Linked DNA regions of Homo sapiens: all the other regions are linked to region 4. The links are contacts of gene promoters, found by promoter capture Hi-C in human tissues and cell types (Jung and others, 2019). All regions are on one chromosome and are shown on one strand. The core of a region is centred on a gene start or on the middle of the fragment in contact, and the rest is flanking DNA. Distances in the headings are between cores, read along the strand shown.

Region 1 (2,721 bases), core at 34-2,533, 240 kb before region 4:
TTGCTGCCTCATGGTGTCGTTTCACTGGGAACTTTGTCCTCCTGTTTTCTGCAAACTGGTGGTTAGAGTGGGAAGCTTGATCTGATTTTTTTGTTTGTTTGTTTGAAGGGAGCTCCGTAGCTGGTAGGTAGCCTCCTGCTGCTTAGCTGAAGCTGGGGAGTGGCTGCTGGTTTCTCTTTCCTCCTGTTAGGACTGCTGGGAGCTCTGGTGGTGCCTGCCTCTTCTCTCAGTAAAATTCCTCATCCATCTTTTTTTTTTTTGAGACAGAGTTTTGCTCTTGTTTCCCAGGCTGGAGTGCAATGGTGTAATCTCAGTTTACTGCAACCTCCGCCTCCCAAGTTCAAGCGATTCTCCTGCCTCAGCCTCCCAAGTAGCTGGGATTACAGGTGCATGCCACCACGCCCCACTGATTTTTGCATTTTTAGTAGAGACAGGGTTTCACCATGTTGGCCAGACTGGTCTCAAACTCCTGACCTCAGGTGATCCACCTGCCTCGGCCTCCCAAAGTGCTGGGATTACAGGCATGAGCCACTGTGCTGGGCCATGGCTAATTTCTGTATTCTTATAAGGACGGGGTTTCACCTTGTTGGCCAGGCTGGTCTCTGACTCCTGACCTCAGTTGATCCGCCTGCCTCGGCCTCCCAAAGTGCTAGAATTACAGGTGTGAGTCACCACACCGGGCCCATTTGTATTTAAAAATTTTTTTGAAATAGGCAGGGCGAGGTGGCTCACGTCTGTAATCCCAGCACTTTGGGAAGCTGAGGCAGGAGAATCCCTTGAACTTGTGAGGCGGCGGTTGCAGTGAGCTGAGATCACGCCATTGCACTCCAGCCTGGGCAACAAGAGCAAAACTCTCTCAAAAAGTAATACTACTAATAATTAATTAATAAATAAATATAAGACTCTGAGGGGACTCAGAGTCAGCGAGAGCCTGGCCTAGCAGGACTCTGTCCCCCGCCTCCATGCTGCCTTCCTGGAGGCCTTCCTGGCTGCCTGGAGGAGCGGAGCAGAGTGGGGGCCCCTTTCTGTTGGGGCATCACAACAGTTCCCCAAGGAAGACCCTCGGGGACCCGGATGGGGGATGCGACCTTGTCCTGCCTCTCTCCCCCACCCTTATGGCCAGGCTTGGGGTGCCTGGTGCAGGTGGAGGAGCTAAGGGTAGATAACAAGATGGACTTTGTGGCCGGCAATGGGGAGGGAGGAGGGGCTACGGGCTCACCTCCCTCCCGCAGCCCAGCCACACCTGCTCTGGAAAGCCCTGTAGCTCCTGGGCGGGGTTTGCCAGTCACCGATGCTGGAAGGGTTTCTTTGGCCCTGAGTGAAGAGAGACCCAGAGGGAACACTGAGGTGCCTGCCCAACCACTCTGTCCCGGTTTCCTTCAGCAGGACCAGGTGAGAGAAGGTGAGGGGGCTCCTCTCCCACCCTACAACACGCACACCTCTGCACACACGCCCAGGCGGAGAGCAGGGATTTGGGACGTGGACCTGTGTGCCCTCGTGGGTCCCTGGTGCCCTCTGGGAGGCACCCCCAACTCAGGACCTCCAGGAGAGGAGGGTCCCTCCCTCGGCAGCCAGGACCCCCCTCCCCAGCCAGCCGCCCTCCTTAGCTCCCTCCCCACTTCCTTCCAGGTGGATCTGTTTCTAGAGCTCCAACCACCAGCTCCCTCCCCTTCTCCACCCCGGGCCACCAGGTCCTTCCTTGTCTCCTTCCCCTCAGCAGTTTCTATGAACCACCCTGGCAGTAATGGTGCAGATGGCTCGCGCACAGCTGGTGGTGACCCGACTTTCCTGCCTCCACCCTGGGGCTCCTCAGAGGCTTCATGGAACCCAAACTGCTGGTCTCACCTCCGAGCCCTGCCGTCGCCCAGGGAGGGCGGCTCCGTCCCTCCTGCACTCCCTAATCCCGCTCTGAATCACCGCTTCTGTTCTGGGTCGGAGAATAAAGGTGGGGTTTCCAAGTGATGGCCCTACGTTATTGTCTGAAGCTCCCTTCTCCTCCCCAGGGTGGAAGTGATAATGCCGGGAATCCGGGAATCCCGGGGAGGTGCAGGAAGACAGCGAGCTCGAGGCAGTGGGGTGCGACTGAGCCGGATGTGCTGAGCTGCCCGGGGCACGGGGCGGTTGGGGTAGAGAAAGGCTTTCAGAGCTGGGGGACAGGACGGGGCCCCGGGTGAGCGGAGAGCTGGGTTATTTCACGGGAACAGCTGGTGACAAAGCCGGAGGGGTGTGCGGGGCCGGCGAGAGACTGGGATTGTGTCTTAAGAGGCATAGGGAGCCCTGAAGGGGCTGCGAGCTGGGAAGGGGCAGGGCCGGCGCTGGGTGTAGGGGACAGAGGGGAGAGGAGGAAGCCGGGCCGCAATAGAAAGACGTGGACGGGGCTGGACGTGGTGGCTGACGCCTGTAATCCCAGCACTTTGGGAGGCCGAGACAGGCGGATCACTTGAGGTCAGGAGTTCGAGACCAGTCTGGCCAACATGGAGAAACCCCGTCTCTACTAAAAATACAAAATTAGCCAGGCGTGGTGGTGCATGCCTGTAATCCCAGCTACTCGGGAGGCTGAGGCAGGAGAATCGTTTGAACCCGGGAGGCGGAGGTTGTGGTGAGCCGAGATTGTGCCATTGCACTCCAGCCTGGGGAACAAGAGCAAAACTCCGTCTCAAAAAAAAAAAAAAAAAAAAAAATCTCAGTAAGATAGACCAGGTGTGGTGTCTCATGCCTGTA
Region 2 (2,700 bases), core at 167-2,666, 140 kb before region 4:
AGCTGAGCTGAGGCCAGGGCCTAGGGGACAAAGAGGCGGGGGAACGGACAGCAGAGTCGGGGGCAGGAGGAACAGGGATCGGGGCCTCGTGGGCTTTGAGAGAAAAGGATGCAGCACCTAGGGGTCCGGCCTAGAGACTGGGAGACGGGAAAGTAGGGGAGGAGCTGGTTGGTGGGGGGCAGATAGTAAGTTCAGTGCCGGAGACATGAAATGCTCCCCCAGGTTGGAGAAACCATCAGAACACTGGGGGCTCGGATGACTGAGTCCTTCAGAATAAAATGGGCTGAGGAAGCAGGATTCCTGGGTTAAAGCCCCAGAGTCACGTCACTGAAGAAGCCCGACAATGTGTGTTCTTTGGCATTTTATTTCAAAATTGCAGCAAAGACAGAGAAAAAAAAATCAACGGCAGCACCAGGGGTCTGGCCTGAGAACGGAGAGATCCGGAATCGGGGCCAAGGTGTATCCTTGACCGCACGACAAGGAGTAATGGGCGGACCTGAACCCGCGACGAGGGGCTGGGGGCCAAGATGCCTGGGTCGGCCCTTACGGCTTTGGGAGTGTCGCAACCACATGGGGGCGCCAGAGACCCAGACGCCGCCCGCTGGCCTTTTATTTCGTATTGCACTTCAGGTGAGTCATTGGTAGGGAGGCGAGTGCTGGCGTGACGAGATGCTACGGGTCGGTGGATCTGGAGCACAGCCTGCAGCTTCACACCGGGAACATCCACTCGTGGGCTCTGATTCCGTACTGCGGAACAACGGAGGCAGTGCGTGAGGTGGAAGCTGCACTACAACTCCCAGTAGGCCCTGGGGTGTTCCAGGCCGAGTGCCTACGGAGCTGTGCCCCAGCGGCTCACGGGAAATGTAGTCCACTTCCCAGAGGGCCCCAACAATGATGGGAACGGGGAATCAAGGCTAAGGCGGCGCAGAGGCTTCCGGGAGATGTAGTTCTGAAGACAGGAATTATGGCCAGGCCTCTAAGGCTCTTGGAAAAAGTCACTTTCAGCTCAGAAAGCCCAGATAGTCAGAGGATGTGTAGTTCTAGGTCCTGATGCACAAAAGTTTACAGAAATGTAGCTCTAGGTCTGGGAAAGGAGCCCAGAGATTCTTGGGAAAGAGATCTTGGCCCAGAAGATGGGAATACCCCCAGAGATTTATGGGATTAAACAGTCTGGTGCCAGAGAGGGGCCAAGGTCCAGAGGCTCATGGGAGGAAGCTTTCTCCGGCCAAAGGGATAGCCCAGGGCTCCAGGGAATCTTGGGAGGCCAACCTCTGAGATGGCCAGAGGGCTGGCTAAGGTCTCAGTGATTCATGGAAAGGGCCTTTCTCCCACCAGGGCACCCGGGGCAGCAGAGGATCACAGGGAGGGAGTTTCTCCCACCAGGGCACCCAGGGGCCTCAGAGGCCCACGGAGAGGGGGTTTCTCCTACCAGGGCACCCAGGAGCCGCAGAGGATCACAGGAAGGGGTTTCCAAAGCTGAAGACATATCCAGGGCTCCGGGAGCTCCCAGGAAAGGGTGATTTAGCCCCAAGGGGTTTTCCAGGCCACAGAGCAGCACAGAAAGCCCACTCTCCAGGGCCTCAATAAGAAAGGCCATTATCTGTTCCTGGTACTACTGAAGGAGGCTGGCTGTTAGTCCAGGGGCTCATGGGACACCAACTTCTCCAGGGAACAAGCTCCCAGCCCATTCCCCAGCTCCCTGCAGCTCACCTGGATCTCCTTCAGCTCCTTCTGGAAGCGGAGGATCAGCTCAGGCCCATTTTCCATGGTGGGAATGTGGAGGTTCTGGGACAGAAGGTGCGGTGAGGACCAAGCCCCTCCCCTCCTTCCCTCCCACCCACAATGGCAGCCCCGCCTCACCCTGTCTTTGTACAGGATTCGGTGCACTGGGCAGACCTGGCAAGCGGTGCCCGAGCCAAAGACTTCCCGCACGCGGCCCTCCTCCAGGGCCCGCAGCAACTGCTTCATGGTGATCGTGCGCTCCACCACCCGGAACTCACCCTGCAGGGCAGTTGGCAGAGACACGTGTCCCCAGAGGGTTGCCCTGCTGCAGACCTCCACCTCTCCCTCCCTGAGGATAGTGAGAAAGACAGAGGCCCAACGGGAGAGACAGACCCAGGAGAAGGGGCAGAGACATGCCAGTGTGCCCCAGTCCCAGCCCTCTGATGCCCTGGCCCCTGGCACATGGCGCCCATCACCAGAAGATGCCATGTCCTCACCCAGGTCTGAGCCATGTCCAGTAGACTCTGTCTGACCACTCCAGGCAGGATAACACCATTCAGCGGGGGCGTCACCAGCTCCAGCACTAGGGCAGGTGTAAGGGGTGGAAGATGTTACCTCTCACCCCCTAGCACCGCCGTCTTAAGAGCCACCCCCTTCCCCCATCCCAGAATCCCTGGGGCCTGTAACCTGCCAGGAATGATGGTGCCACCCACTTCCACCAGGGTTCGGGCTGGGTCATGGGTGGGCTTACCCCCATCTTCGTGGGTCCAGTAGACAAAGATGTTCATGGTTCCCACCTCGGTGAGCTGGTGGTCGGGCCCATACAGCCAGAGGACCTGTTCACAGCCCCGCTTGAGTGCCTCCTGTTGCACTAACACGGTGGGCCCATAATTCCTGGTGGAGGGCAGTCTGGTTGGGTGGGGCAAGGGAGCCCCATCCTTCCCCAGCCCAGCCCCAGAGGAGGCTCATCCTACTCTC
Region 3 (2,700 bases), core at 180-2,679, 170 kb before region 4:
GACAGGGTTTCGCCATGTTGGCCAGGCTGCTCTCCAACTCCTGACCTCAAGTGAACTGCCTGCCTTGGCCTCCCAAAGTGCTGGGATTACAAGCGTGAGCCACTGCACCTGGCCCTGGCTAGTTCTTTTAACTTTTACTTTGGTACAGACAGGGTCATGTTGGCCAGGCTGGTCTTGAACTCCTGGGCTCAAGCAATCCTCCCACCTCGGCCTCTCAAAGTGCTGGGGTTATAGGTGTGAGCTACCACGCTTGGCTCTTTGTCTTAATTTCCCTCTTCCTATAAGGACACCAATCATATAGGACTTAGCGCACACCCCAACCCGGTATAACCTCACCTGAACTTGATTTCATCTACAAAGGCCGTATTTCCAAGTAAGGACACATTCAGCGGTACCAGGTAGACATGAAGCTTCCAGGACGCTATTTCCCCAATGCACACCTCTACACGGAGTTAGTCACACTCCTCTTCTTCTTCTTTTTTTTTTTTTTTTTAAGACAGTTTCTCTCTTGTTGCCCAGGCTGGAGTGCAATGGCATGATTTCGGCTCACTGCAACCTCTGCCTCTCGGGTTCAAGCAATTCTCCTGCCTCAGCCTCCCAAGTAGCTGGGATTACAGGCATGTGCCACCACATCTGGCTAATTTTGTATTTTTAGTAGAGACAGGGTTTCTCCATGTTGGTCAGGCTGGTCTCGAACTCCTGACCTCAGGTGATACGCCTGCCTTGGCCTCCCACAGTGCTGGGATTACAGGCGTAAGCCACCGCACCTGGCCTCACACTCCTCTTCTTTTTCTCTCATTTAAGTGAGCCGTACCCTTAGGAGGAAGTTGCACAGTTGACATTAGGGTGGGCCAGGATAGCTTTCTGAGCCTTAAAAATCTTAAAAGTTTTGCCGGTCACAGTGGCTCACGCCTGTAATCCCAGCACTTTGGGAGGCCAAGGTGAGCGAATCCCCTGAGGTCAGGAGTTCCAGACCAGTCTGCCCAACAAGGTGAAACCCTGTCTCTACTAAAATTACAAACATTAGCTGGGCGTGGTGGTGCACACCTGCGGTCCCAGTTACTTGGGAGGTTGAGGCACAGGAATCTCTTATTTATTTTTTATTTTTTATTTTTTTTGAGATGGAGTCTCGCTCTGTCGCCCAGGCTGGAGTGCAGTGGAGCGATCTCGGCTCACTGCAAGCTCCACTTCCCGCGTTCACGCCATTCTTCTGCCTCAGCCTCCCGGGTAGCTGGGACTACAGTCACCCACCACCACGCCCAGCTAATTTTGTTTTTGTATTTTTAGTAGAGACGGGGTTTCATCATGTTAGCCAGGATGGTCTCGTTCTCCTGACTTCATGATCCGCCTGCCTCGGCCTCCCAAAGTGCTGAGGCACAGGAATCTCTTGAACCCAGGAGGCAGAGGCTGCAGTGAGCTGAGATCACGCCACTGCACTCCAACCTGGGCAACAGAGCAAGACTCCATCTCAAAACAAAACAAAAAAACTATCTGGGCATGGTGGTGGGCACCTGTAATCCCAGCTACTCGGGAGGCTGAGGCAGGAGAATCGCTTGAACCCAGGAGGCGGAGGTTGCAGTGAGCCAAGATCACACCACTGCACTCCAGCCTGGGTGACAGAGCGAGCCCCTGTCTCAAAAAATTAAATATATAAATAACAAATAAATAAATAGGCTGACTCTTTGCTGTTTCCCCACAGTATTGTATGCAATATATAACCACTCAGCACAGCCACCTCTCCAACGTTCAGGAGCAAACTCTATCTCCTTGGTTCTTGCCCCCACCATTATCAGAACCTTCCCTCTGCTTTACTCTCTGAGCGCCTGCCAAGATCAGTTTGGGTTTTGTTTCTCTATTAGTTTTCACCAGTGTGGAGCTTCGTCCTTCCAAGAGGGAGGTTCTACTGAGTGAGCACTTCCCAGATCCCTGGGGAGCCAGGCTATTTAGCATCTTTCAGCTTCTCCACCACACCCTATCCTCACCTACTCACTGGAGCCCCTAGAGATTTGACTACTGTTCTTGTTTTCTTTTCTTTTTTTTTCGGAGGGGTGGAGGGGGACAGGGTCACTGTCGCCCAGGCTGGAGTGCAGTGGCACAATCTCAGCTCTCTGCAACCTCTGCCTCCCAGGTTCAAGCAATTCTCCTGCCTCAGCCTCCTAAGTGGCTCAGATTACAGGTGCCTCCACCTGGCTAATTTTTTGGAGGTTTTTTGTTTTTGTTTTTGTTTTTTTTGTTTTTTTTTTTTGTTTTTTTTTGAGAGAAAGAATCTCGCTCTGTTGCCCGGGCTGGAGTGCAGTGGGCTCACTGGAACCTCCGCCTCCCGGGTTCAAGAGATTCTCGTGCTTCAGCCTCCCAAGTAGCTGGGACTTCAGGTTTGCGCTACCATGCCCGGCTAATTTTTGTATTTTTAGTAGAGACAGGGTTTCACCATGTTGGCCAGGCGGCTCTCAGAACTCCTGACCTCAAGTGATCTGCCCGCCTCGGCCACCCAAAGTGTTGGATTACAAGCGTAAGCCATTGCACCTGGCCGAAAACCAATCTGTATCATAACCCCACGGCACCTGAATCATTTCTAAGTGTACAGTTAAGTCGCGTTAAGTATATTCACATTGTTGCACAACCAATCTTCAGAATTTTTTCATCTGATAAAATTGAAACTCTCTGCCGCAATTAAATCCCACTTCCCCAATTCTCCTCCCT
Region 4 (2,700 bases), core at 201-2,700:
ATCCTGGCCAACATGGTGAAACCCTGTCTCCACTAAAAATAAAAAAAATTAGCTGGGCATGGTGGAGGGCGCCTGTGGTCCCAGCTACTCAGGAGGCTGAGGCAGGAGAATCACTTGAACCAGGGAGGCGGAGGTTGCAGTGAGCTGAGATCACACCACTGCACTCCAGCCTGGGGATAGAGTGAGACTCCGTCTCAAACAAACAAACAAACAAATAGCGGTAAGTGGGGCACATGCCTATACTCCCAGCTACTCAGGAGGCTGAGGCGGGAAGATAGCTTGAGCCCAGGAGTACAAGGCTGCTGTGAGCTATTATCACGCCACTGCAGTCCAGCTAGGTAACAGAGTGAGACCCTATCTCTAAAATAATTAATAAATAAAACAAAATAATTAGCCAGGTGTAGTAGCCAGTAGCTACTTTGGGTCCCAGCTACTGTAGTCCCAGGTACTAGGGTGGCTAAGGCAGGAGCTAATTCCTTGAGCTAAGGAATTTGAGGCTGCAGTGAGCTATGATTGTGCCACTGCACTCCTTCCTGGGCGACAGAGCGAGACCCTATATCAATAATAATTATAATAATACAGTATATTTTACATAATAGACCATAGAGCTCAATGAATCCTCCTCACAACCCTATGTAGGTAGATGTTATCATGATCTCTGCTTTCCAGAATAGAAAAGTGAGGACCAGAGAGGGCGACCTCTTGTCCAAAAGCAATACAGCCAAGAAGGGGCAAGGAGGGTTTTGAAACCAGTCGGCCAGGCTCTGGGGCTCCTAACAAGCAAAGCAGCCTGGTTTCTAAAACTATAGCTTCTGGAAGCAGCCAATTCACAGGTCTTTACCTCCTGACTGTGAGACCTCCAAAAAATGACCAGGGATCTTGGAGTCTGTTTCCCCCTTTGTGAACTGGGGACAATAGAAGCTACTTCCCAGGTCTGCGGGGAGAAATTAGGAACGAAGAAGGTAAAGCGCAGAGCTGAGGAGCTGGTCTACAGGTGCTCTATACATATTAGTAATAATTATTAAGTTTGCTGTTACAATCCTCTCTCTCTCTGTGAACAACCCCTAATGATGCGTGGCTTTGAGAGCAAAAAAGTCAGGGCAAAGTTTTGCCACAAAGTCCAGAGGGCAAGACATTAAATCTAACTCTCAAGGATTGGTGTTGGCAAGAAAGCAAACCTCTCCTCCCCACGCTGTCCTTACCCCGCGTATCCGACGAGCCTAAAGTCATAGGTAAGAGATCTGTAGAAGCGACGTCAAGGTGTGGTTCCCTCTGTAAGGCGGAGCTAAACGGTGCATTCGCCCAGCGGGGAAGCTAGAACTAAATGACCGCTCTGCCGACTGGAGCCAACGAGAATCGGCGTAGGCGCAATACGGGCGGAGGATGGGGACCCGCCCCCGGGGTGGGCGGGGCGTCAGGTACTTAATTCGCGCCTGGAGGGACCGAAGGTGCCGAGGGCTCCGCATCGCAACCATGGCGCTGCGCTGGGGCATCGTGTCTGTCGGCCTCATCTCCAGCGACTTCACAGCCGTGCTGCAGACGCTGCCTCGCTCTGAGCACCAGGTCTGCCCGCCCTCCGGATTCTGGGGAAGAGGAGGCGGGGGGCGGGACTCCAGAGTCTAAAGGAGGAGGGAGTTTAGGGTTCAGGACTAGTGAGTGGGTCGTCATTGCAGTGAAACGTCTGTTTCCTTGCTACCTCCTTCTCCATCTCTGTTCTGCAAACCTGTGGGGAAAAGAAAGATCAGATTGTTACTGTGTCTACGTAGAAAATGAAGACATAAGAAACTCCATTTTGAACTGTACTAAGAAAAATTGTTTCTGCTTTGAGATGCTATTAACCTGTAACTTTAGCCCCAACCGTGTGCTCACAGAAACATGTCCTGTATTGAATCAAAGTTTAATGGATTTAGGGCTTTGCAGGATGTGCCTTGTTAACAATATGTTTGCAGGCAGTATGCTTGGTAAAAGTCATCGCCATTCTCCATTCTCTATTAACCAGGGGCACATTGCACTGCGGAAAGCCGCAGGGACCTCTGCCCAAGAAAGCCTGGGTATTGTCCAGGGTTTCCCCCCACTGAGAAAGCCTGAGATATGGCCTCGTGGGAAAGGAAGACCTTACATCCCCTAGCCCGACACCAGTAAAGGGTCTGTGCTGAGGAGGAGTAGTGAAAGAGGGAGGCCTCTCTGCAGTTGAGATAAGAGGAAGGCTTCTGTCTCCTGCTCTCCCTGGGAATGGACTGTCTCAGTGTAAAGCGGACCATTCCCATTCCTTCTATTCTGAGATAGGAGAAAACCTACCTGTGGCTGGAGGCGAGATATGCTGGCAGTGATACTGCTCTGTTACTCTTTGCTACACTGAGATGTTTGTGTAAAGTGAAACATAAATCTAGCCTACGTGCACATCCGGTCACAGCACCTTTCCTTGAACTTATTCATGATACAGATTCCTTTTCTACATAGACACAGTAACAATCTGATCTCTCTTTCTTTTCCCCACACAAACCTGAGTGTCTTGAGGTTTGGAAAGGCCTTGATGTAAGCTACTATGAAGATAATTTCAATATTGGGGGATTTAATAACGGCTTTCCCCCAGATCTCTCTTTCCCAGGGCCCAAATGTCCAGCCCCCGTCATCTCTTCCCCCAGGACCACGTCTCCCCTTCCCCTGGCCAGAGCCTCCTCCTTTGCCTCCCTTCCACCC

The links. The method cuts DNA at HindIII sites, captures the fragments that hold promoters and counts their contacts. A contact is called where the count stands out against the background at its distance.
Region 1: the fragment with the promoter of FUT2 here is called in contact with the fragment with the promoter of DHDH in region 4 in 1 of the 25 tissues and cell types used here (dorsolateral prefrontal cortex).
Region 2: a fragment that was not itself captured here is called in contact with the fragment with the promoter of DHDH in region 4 in 1 of the 25 tissues and cell types used here (spleen).
Region 3: a contact is called between a fragment that was not itself captured here and the fragment with the promoter of DHDH in region 4, in 3 of the 25 tissues and cell types used here (adrenal gland, dorsolateral prefrontal cortex and spleen).

What each region holds. Positions count from the first base shown.
Region 1 is chr19:48,694,688-48,697,408 of GRCh38, forward strand. It overlaps FUT2 (fucosyltransferase 2 (H blood group)), which reads left to right and starts at 1,284. Exons shown (of 2, transcript NM_000511.6): 1 at 1,284-1,402. RefSeq lists enhancers at 555-1,118, 1,683-2,246. The HindIII fragment of the contact is 31,324 bases long and covers 1-2,721 here.
Region 2 is chr19:48,794,718-48,797,417 of GRCh38, forward strand. It overlaps BCAT2 (branched chain amino acid transaminase 2), which reads right to left. Exons shown (of 11, transcript NM_001190.4): 7 at 2,474-2,616; 8 at 2,220-2,305; 9 at 1,861-2,001; 10 at 1,711-1,785; 11 at 347-747. The coding sequence ends at 709. Among named protein-coding and RNA genes, the nearest start is that of BCAT2, 15 kb to the right of the region's middle. RefSeq lists enhancers at 516-585, 626-805, 1,403-2,038. The HindIII fragment of the contact is 3,051 bases long and covers 1-2,700 here.
Region 3 is chr19:48,766,583-48,769,282 of GRCh38, forward strand. No RefSeq gene overlaps it. Among named protein-coding and RNA genes, the nearest start is that of FGF21, 12 kb to the left of the region's middle. The HindIII fragment of the contact is 4,374 bases long and covers 1-2,700 here.
Region 4 is chr19:48,932,249-48,934,948 of GRCh38, forward strand. It overlaps DHDH (dihydrodiol dehydrogenase), which reads left to right and starts at 1,451. Exons shown (of 7, transcript NM_014475.4): 1 at 1,451-1,563. The coding sequence starts at 1,474. RefSeq lists an enhancer at 1,024-1,525. The HindIII fragment of the contact is 30,682 bases long and covers 1-2,700 here.